Linked DNA regions of Homo sapiens: region 1 is linked to region 2. Evidence: promoter capture Hi-C in human tissues and cell types (Jung and others, 2019). All regions are on one chromosome and are shown on one strand. The core of a region is centred on a gene start or on the middle of the fragment in contact, and the rest is flanking DNA. Distances in the headings are between cores, read along the strand shown.

Region 1 (4,295 bases), core at 1,095-3,594, 130 kb before region 2:
GGAGTACTCAGGCCAGGATAGAGAAAAGATGGGACCCAGAGAGGAAGGTGGACACTGAATCTGGCTTTCCTGGGAGGTATGGAAAGATGTGGCCACTGCTCCATCTCTGAAACAAAAAGCTGAACTTATTGCTTGTTCAGCATGGGAGAGCTATAATTGTAAGGCTCAGACTGCCCGAACAAAGCAAACTGCTGGCCTTCATAGTGTTTCAGGAAGAGTGGAGTTCAGGCATAGGAGGCTTTCAGAAGTGGGAGAGCTTGGGGAATGATTGATCTCTAACTGAGGGAGACTAGTTATTGGAGAGGGGCTACTGCTGGTTGGTTGACCAAAGAAAGTGGTCACTACTAGATTGAGACGGACTTAATGCTGGTGTTTGCTTGTTGCTGTGGCCAGACAACAGCCTATCTTTTCATTTTGAAGTTGGAGAATTGAAATTTTTTATTCTCATAGGCAAACCTGAGCATCATTTTTTGACTACTTTTGTGGCTAGAGGTCAGAAGACAAAGCACAGAGCCTGGCCATGCAGGAGAGTCTAGTGGAAGACCATTCCTTCAATGTGGGACTCCATGGGCTACACCTCACTGTCATGGGAAACTAGAAAATCTATTTCCCCTTTGGATACTACATCGGCACTGCCTGTAGCAAACTTTGGTGCCAAGTGGAGCAGGAAAAGCATTCTCTAAGAATTAATAACTATAACCTGAACTACGTGTGTGTGTATGTAGCCTGAATCCACATTTCCTCAACTATCCAAAACAAGGGATTTTAGTTTAAAGGAGTGTCAGATTGGAAGTGCCTCAATTGTTTGACAGAAGTAAATACAATTACTTTCTAAAGGACTCTGCCTTTACCTCAGGCCTCAGAAAATTTCCATAAAGTTCCACAGCAAATGAGCAGTTCAGAGTAAAAAAAAAATCACTAAATATACAAGGAAACAAGACACCATGAGGGAAAGTCAACAGAAACAACAGGCAGTAGAATCAGATCAGCCAAACATTTAGATACTAAAAATAGCAGGACTGGAAAATAAATGTGTTTTATGGAAGAAATAAGAGGCTTGGATGTATTAATGAAGAACAAGCATACTTGAAAAAGAACCAAACATACTCTTAGAAATAAAAACATGACAATCAAAATGAAAAACTCAAAAGATAGCTTAACCACAGTTTAGACATGACCGAAGAAGGAATTGATGAACTGAAGGATAAGGCAAAAGACATTAGGAGAGTTGCACTCCTGAAAGATAAAGAACTGGGAAATATAAAGAACATGAGGACTTGCGTGCAAATGTAAGCATATTGCTAATTGGATTTCCAGAAAATGAAGAGAGATAGAATAGGAGTAGGGGCAATATTTGAAGAGGATTATGGCTGAAACTATTTCAGATATAATGAAAGATAGCAACCCACAAATTTAAGAAGCCCAGTGACTCTCAAGCAAGCCAAAGAAAAAGGATTCCACACGAGTCACATAAGAATAAAAATACAGAACATTGAAGACCAAGAGAAGTCTTATAAAAGAGCCCAAGAGAAAATATAGATTATCTTCAAAGATAGTTACGCTGAGAACTTACTATTCAGGAGCAACAATGGGAATTAGGAAACAGAGAAATGATGTCTTCAAAATGCTCAGAGCAAATGATTACCAACCTAGAATTCAATATCCGGTGAAAAAAATTAAAGATGCAAATGATTGTCAACCTAGAATTCAATATCCAGTGGAAAAAATAAAGACACAAAGGATTACCCACCTATACAATTCAATATTCAGTGAAAAAAATAAAGACAATCATAGGCAAATAAAAATCAAGAAGGTGTCCCACAAACAACCCTTGCTTAAGGAAATTTTTTGTAAAATTAATTTTATTTTTTAAGACAGGGTCTCACTCTGTTGCCCAGATGGGAGTGCAGTGGTGCAATCATGGCTCACTGCAGCCTTGAACTCTCAGACTTGGGTGATCCTCCCACGTCAGCCTCCTGAGTAGCTGGGACTGCAGGTGTGCACCACCATGCCCAGCTAATTCTTGTTTTTTTTTTTGTAGAGATGGGGGTCTCCATATGTTGCCAGGGCTGGTCTGGAACCCCTAGGCTCAAGCAATCCATCCACCTCAGCCTCCCAAAGTGCTGGAATTACAGGTGTGAGCCCACCATGCCCGGCCACTTGAGGAAGTTTTAAAAGATATGTTTGAGCCAGAAGGAAAATAACCCCAGATGAAAAAATTGGGGTATAAGAAGAGATGAAAGTCGAAGAGATTGTCATATGTGGGCAAATCTAAACAATTATTGGTGGTAAAAATGTCATGTGTTGTTTAAATGAAGATAAAAGAAAAATACAAGGTAATAATCGTCTTAAAGTTAGGAGGGAAATAATTGGAATTAAAAGGTTCTATGGTCCTGCGATGTTCAAGGGGAGGGTAAAGATATGAATTTACTAGAAACTTTGATGAACTACCACTAAAGGAATGGAATTAGCATATACATTCTAACTCTTTAAAGGGTTATGTATGTTTCCTCCCAGTCTGCTTCTTCGTGATGTCTTTTGAAGGGTAAATATTTACAATTTTGATGGTCTAGTTGATCAGTTTTTTTCTTTGATGGATCACACCTTTGGTGTCATATTTAAGAAATCTTTGCCTAATCCAAGGTCACAAAGATTTTCTCTGATGTTTTCTGCTAGAGGTTTTCTAGTTTTTGGAGTTAATTTTGGGGTGGGATGTGAAAAAAAGGTTGAGGTTCACTTTGATGCCTCGGGACATTGATTTGTTCCAGCATTATTTGTGTTAAAGACTGTCCTTTGCAGAGTGGGGGAATTCTCTTTTCTTTTCTTTTTTCTTTTTTCTTGACAGGGTCTTGCTCTGTCACCCAGGCTGGAGTGCAGTGGCGAGATCTCGGCTCACTGCAACCTCGACCTCCTGGGCTCAAGCAATCCTCCTGCTTCAGTCTCCTGAGTAGCTGGAACTACAGGTGTGCGCCACCACGCCCAGCTAATTTTTAAAATTTCTTTTGTAGAGGTGGAGTCTCGCTATGTTGCCCAGATTGGTCTTGAACTCCTGAGCTTAAGCAATCCTCCTACCACGGCTTCCCAAAGTGCTGAGATTACAGGTGTTAGCCATTGCACCCAGCCTGAGTGGGAGATTTTTACACCCCTCTCTCAGGAGTTGATAGCAAGTAGGCAAATACTTGGTAATGACAGATTTAAGCAGCATCGTCAAGAAGCTTGACTTGACGGACTCACACAGAAGGCCAAGGGCAGGACTACACGGGGCCGTCATGGAAGCTGACCACATGCTGGGCCATAGAGAGAGACAGCCGCTGTGAAGGCTTGCCGTCTCAGAGACTGTGTTTTCTGACCGACCTCAGTACCAGTTAGAACAATAATGATGATGGCGATAAAATAGTTTGAAATCGCCCTTATCTGCAAAGTAAGGAAGAAGACATCATCATGAACATTAGGAGGGCAGTCCGGTACCTGTCTCACAGGGCAGTTGAGAGACCTAACAGCCGCTATCCAGAAAGCACTTCTTAATTTTTTAATTAATTAATTAATTTTTGAGATGGAGTTTTGCTCTTGTTGCCCAGGTTGGAGTGCAATGGTGTGATCTCAGCTCACTGCAACCTCCACCTTCTGGGTACAAGCGATTCTCCTGCCTCAGCCTCCCTAGTAGCTGGGACTGCAGGATGCGCCACCACGCTCCGCTAATTTTTGTATTTTTAGTAGAGACGGGGTGTCACCATGTTGGCGAGGCTGGTCTCGAACTCCTGACCTCAGGTGATCTACCTGCCTCAGCCTCCCAATGTGCTGAGATTACAGGCGTGAGCCACTGCGCCTGGCCCATATTTTAAAATAATAATAATTATTATTATTTTTGTAGAGACAGGGTCTCCTTATATTACCCAGGCTGGTCTCGAACTCCTGGGCTCAAGCACATAAAGCACTTCTAACAGTGTCTGGCAGGCACTGCGAGAGCCAATGATGGGAGACTCAACCTCCTCCCCCTCCTTCGTGGCTTGTTTTCTGATTCATGTACTTGTTACTTGCTGGGTGCTGTCTGTGGGATCAGTCAGGCACTTGGCTGCCTAGAATTCTGTCCCACTGCACTGTGATGAGCCCAACAGCCAAGATCCCTGCGAGCTCACAGCTCAGGAGGCGGTGCCTAGGGGCTTCGCTGGTCCACAGTGAAGACCTCTGTTGGGCCATCCAGTGGCAGAACAGGGCAGGACAAAGGAGGCCGTGAGTGCAGTGTACAGCACACAGGACTCAGAGACCCCAAACTTGGGGCCGTGTCCTGGCTCTGT
Region 2 (4,352 bases), core at 175-2,674:
AACGGTGCCCCTCTGGGTGCAATCAGTGGGGAGGGGCTCATGGCCTGAGCTTGGCTTTGCAGGATGGCCTGGCCACTGTGGGGCAGAGAGCACTGCCTGCGAGGGCCAGGGGAAGGCTGGCACTTTCTCCAAATTTCACGTTCGTGCAAAGACACAGTCATTCCTTTCTACAGCGTAGAGCTCAGAGCTGAAGCAGCCTCCAGACCTGCTGTCATGGGTATTTAAGGACCTAAATGTTGCTGTCAGCCTATGACATGAATGTGCCCCTAAGGCTAGATTCTGGGTTTCTCCAGAGAGACGAGAAACAGGAGGGAAAAGGAAGGAAGGGAGGGAGGAGGCTGGGGAGGAGGGACAGCTTCTAGTCCAGCTGGAGAGATCTGTCAACCCAGCCTGGGGGGTGGAGCTGGAGGGATCAAGCAGAATGTCCTGAAGGCAGCTGCCCTCAGTCTACTTGTGGGAGAGGACAGGAGGGAGAGGTGCCGTGGTGAGACTGACCCTCGGGCCCACGGGTGGATGATGGCAAAGGTCCTGTGGCAGGTGTGGGAGAAGCAGGGCTGCGGCCAGCTGCCCTGAGAGGCTTCAAATTCAGGCCAGATCTGCTCTGGGCAAGAGGAAGCTGTGGGTTTGGGAGCTTCAGAGACAGGGGAGCAGGCCTGTCACTCACCCTCTTTTCCTTAAAGGCTGTCACCCCCAGCAGTGCACCCTGCAGCCTGCCTATCCCCTGTGCAGCTCCAGCTCCGTCTGTCCCCAGCAATGCACCCCACGCCCATGTCCCCCACTCCCTATGATGCTCTCGCGCCTTCTGGAGCAGCAGTGGTACCAGCTGGAGGCTGTGGAAAAATTGAGAGGAGACAAAAGTGGGAAGAGCAGGCCGTGGAGAGAGTGTCTAAACACAGGGACTATTTGGAGATTGTCTTATTTTTGGTTTGAAATGGGCCCACCTGCTAGTATTGTACAAACGGCTCTGCTCGCTAGGCCAGGCCTGCAGTGGCTACGGGCCTATCCTTCACTGGTCAGCCTGGAGCAGCTCCTCGGACCTCAGTCTGCTCATCCGTGGGTAGAGGCGACGCAGACCCCATCCCACTGGGGACTGGGCCAGACAGCCTGTGAGGCAGTCAGCTGGTGCCTGGCCAGAGGGTGTCTGAAAGGCCTCTTGGCTGCAGGGTGCATCTGCTTTTGGGACAGCTCTTCAGAGCCATCTCAGAAGGGACAGCATCCGCCTGTCTACTTCAACTCCCACTGATGACGTCCATGTGTCATTAGTGCCAATTAGAGGAGGGCAGCAGGCTGAGTGCTTGGCCTGGGGCGCAAGCTTGTGGGAGGGAAAATTGGATTCCCCGCTAGACAAATGTGATTACCCGTGCTGCCTGGACCCACCCCATTCAGGACCAGGGCATAAATGGCCAGGTGGGACCAGAGAGCTCACCCCAGCCATGCCCGCCCTCAGTCGCTGGGCCAGCCTGCCCGGCCCCAGCATGCGGGAGGCAGCCTTCATGTACAGCACAGCAGTGGCCATCTTCCTGGTCATCCTGGTGGCCGCACTGCAGGGCTCGGCTCCCCGTGAGAGCCCCCTCCCCTATCACATCCCCCTGGACCCGGAGGGGTCCCTGGAGCTCTCATGGAATGTCAGCTACACCCAGGAGGCCATCCATTTCCAGCTCCTGGTGCGGAGGCTCAAGGCTGGCGTCCTGTTTGGGATGTCCGACCGTGGCGAGCTTGAGAACGCAGATCTCGTGGTGCTCTGGACCGATGGGGACACTGCCTATTTTGCGGTGAGTCTCTCCTCCCTGCCAGCTCTCCAAACCCTTCCTGACCCGGCACCCCATCTGGCCGTCTTTCTGCACTCACCCTCCTTAACCCAGAAAGTTCTTCTGTCACCTGTCAGTGTTTGAGTTGACTCTGCTCTGAGCCAAGTCTGCACCCCGAGCTTGGGCATCATGGGGATCTCAGTTTGAGGACAAAATAGGAAAGACATGCTTTCCATGGTCCTTGACTGCCCGCCCCAAATCATGGGACCCAGTAATCCCAAGGAATGGAACTATACACAGAGGACGCACACACCACACACACTCGTGCCGCTCCACACCCCACACGCGCATGAGCACAGACCCCACGACCCTCGGCCCTGTAAACAATGCCTAGTACCACGTCCCCAGAGCACACATGCCCACTGATGTGGGCCAGGTGGTGGCGCGTGGCTGGGCACAGCATGAGGCCTGCACACCCATGGGATCCAGCCTGACCTACTGTGCTTGTACCCGTGGACCAACTGAGCAGGTGCAGACACCCTGCCCCTACCCATAGGTGTTGAACAAGCCCCACAGGGCTCAGCCAAAACTGTTAGGATGGGCTCTTGACTCCTTTCCGTCCAAATTTACCTCCACTCTTGTTTCACAGGGTGGAGAAAGGGGAAAAGTTTCCCTTCAAACTGGAGGGGACTTTAGGCCCTTCCACAAGCTGCAGGGGGTCCCCGAAGTGGGCGAGCCCACCGCCTACAATGGGTCCTGCTCCAGCCTTCCTTTCCACATGGGACTGGCCACCAGGGCTTCTTTGTGGATGAAACCCAACTCTCTCCACAGAAACACACAAAGGAGTGACAAAAAAGTTTTATTTCTGAAGTCAGGAGGTGCCTGCTTTATCTGGGAGTGCCGAGCTGGAGCGGGGGAGCTGTGTCTGTGCGGAGCGGCCGGCTCCAGCTCTGCATCTTGGTCTCACCATGGGCTGGTGGGGCGGAGAGTCCCTCTCTGCCTTTTTGGGTGTTGTGAATTCATGAGGGCAGATGGTGGCTGCTGTTTCTGGAGCTGAGCTTGCCCCCTCCAATTCCCAAGACTCGGCCAGGAGGCACTTGCCTGTGTCGCTAGTGAGGCTTAGGGCCACCCAGGTAGGGTGAGTGGAGCTGCCTGGGAAGGGCCCTGCTCTGACCCATAGGGCTGCACAGATTCCTGTGCACAAAGACACTCTGTGGCTCAGGTTCCAGCCAAGAAAGACCTGGGACAGCCCTGATTCTGAGCCGTCAGCCGTCTGGAGGAGCAGCTGAACCCCATCGCTGACAGTTTGGGGTTCTTCGCAAGCCTCTGCCATGAGGCACCCTGAGTGCAGGAGCATTTGCTCCTCTCTGGGGCAGCGTCCCCCCTGCCTGCATTTCCCGGCTGCTAGGGAAGCCAGAGGAAGCCAGGTGACTTTGCCTTTCCGTGCACTGGCAAGGTTAATTTGCACAACAAATTCCTACGAAAGCAAATGTCAGCCTTATTATTCCTCCCTAAGCAATATGTTCAACTAATATCTTCTTGATTTCCAGCTGAAATATCACAGGCGAACTTTCTGCCTCTGTTTAAAATGAGTCTCTCGGCAAACCAGCGGTGTCCCCAGCGGGGTTGCATTGTGTGGCTTTTTTCTCTAGGGAAAGTTTTGCAGTATCTTTTGCAGATTTCTTTTTTCTCAAGGAAATGAAGAAAAGATGTTTTACCCTGAATGTAAGATTAAAAAGAAACACAACCCAAAGTCCTTAAGGCCAAGGGCCCGAGGCTTTCTTGGGGTTTCCATGGGAAAGGCCAGGCAGGGCAGGGAAGCAGCTTCGTTTGGACAATTCTGGTGGGCTCTGGGTGGCTGGGGTGGTCTCTAGTTGCCTGGTTCCTGGCCCTAGGGTGTTTTAGGGTTGGGGCAATATTGGCCTGGGGTGTGAGAGTCAGGTGGAGGAGGTAGCTAGGGATATGGGCTTGGTGTGGGTCGGAATGTTAGGAATATGATTCTCACACACGTGTGAATGTTGGAGGGCAGGACAGGTGTAAACAACTCTGACCATCTGTTTGAGCCTTCAATCAATTAATAGATGCCAAATAGACAAATATGGAATCTAAGAAGGGCCCTTCTTGAGTACGAAGGGCAGCCTGCTTGTTGGGGAAGGCTCCTCGCTGTCTCTCAGTGGGTCTCCCTGGTGGTCTTCCATGTGACCTGGCCTCGGGCCACCGTGTCCCTGCCCCTTAGGGCCCAGTGCAAGGGGAGCGGCCGGAGACGGGGAGGGCAGAGGTCACTGATCCAGATCCCAGGAAGCATCCTCGGAGAATGCAGCAGGTCCAATGCCTCCCTGGGCCTCAGTTTACCTTCTCCAAGCAGGGCTGGGACTAAGGTGAGGGGAACAATGCCTAGGCTGCAGGGTTTAAAGTGGTGCTTCAGGCTGGGTGTGGTGGCTCATGCCTGTAATTCCAGCACTTTGGGAGGGCAAGGCAGGAGGACCGCTTGAGGCCAGGAGTTCAGGACCAGCCTAGGCAACATAGCGAGACCCTATCTCAAAAAAAAAAAAAAAAAAATCCAAAATTACATGTATTTATAAAGTAATAAAGCAGTGCTTGTTC

Evidence for each region. The method cuts DNA at HindIII sites, captures the fragments that hold promoters and counts their contacts. A contact is called where the count stands out against the background at its distance.
Region 1: a contact is called between a fragment that was not itself captured here and the fragment with the promoter of DBH in region 2, in 2 of the 25 tissues and cell types used here (IMR-90 fibroblasts and spleen).

Annotation. Positions count from the first base shown.
Region 1 is chr9:133,501,259-133,505,553 of GRCh38, forward strand. No RefSeq gene overlaps it. Among named protein-coding and RNA genes, the nearest start is that of MYMK, 22 kb to the right of the region's middle. The HindIII fragment of the contact is 3,478 bases long and covers 606-4,083 here.
Region 2 is chr9:133,634,939-133,639,290 of GRCh38, forward strand. DBH (dopamine beta-hydroxylase) reads left to right here and starts at 1,425. Exons shown (of 12, transcript NM_000787.4): 1 at 1,425-1,772. The coding sequence starts at 1,434. RefSeq lists an enhancer at 2,690-3,425. The HindIII fragment of the contact is 16,885 bases long and covers 1-4,352 here.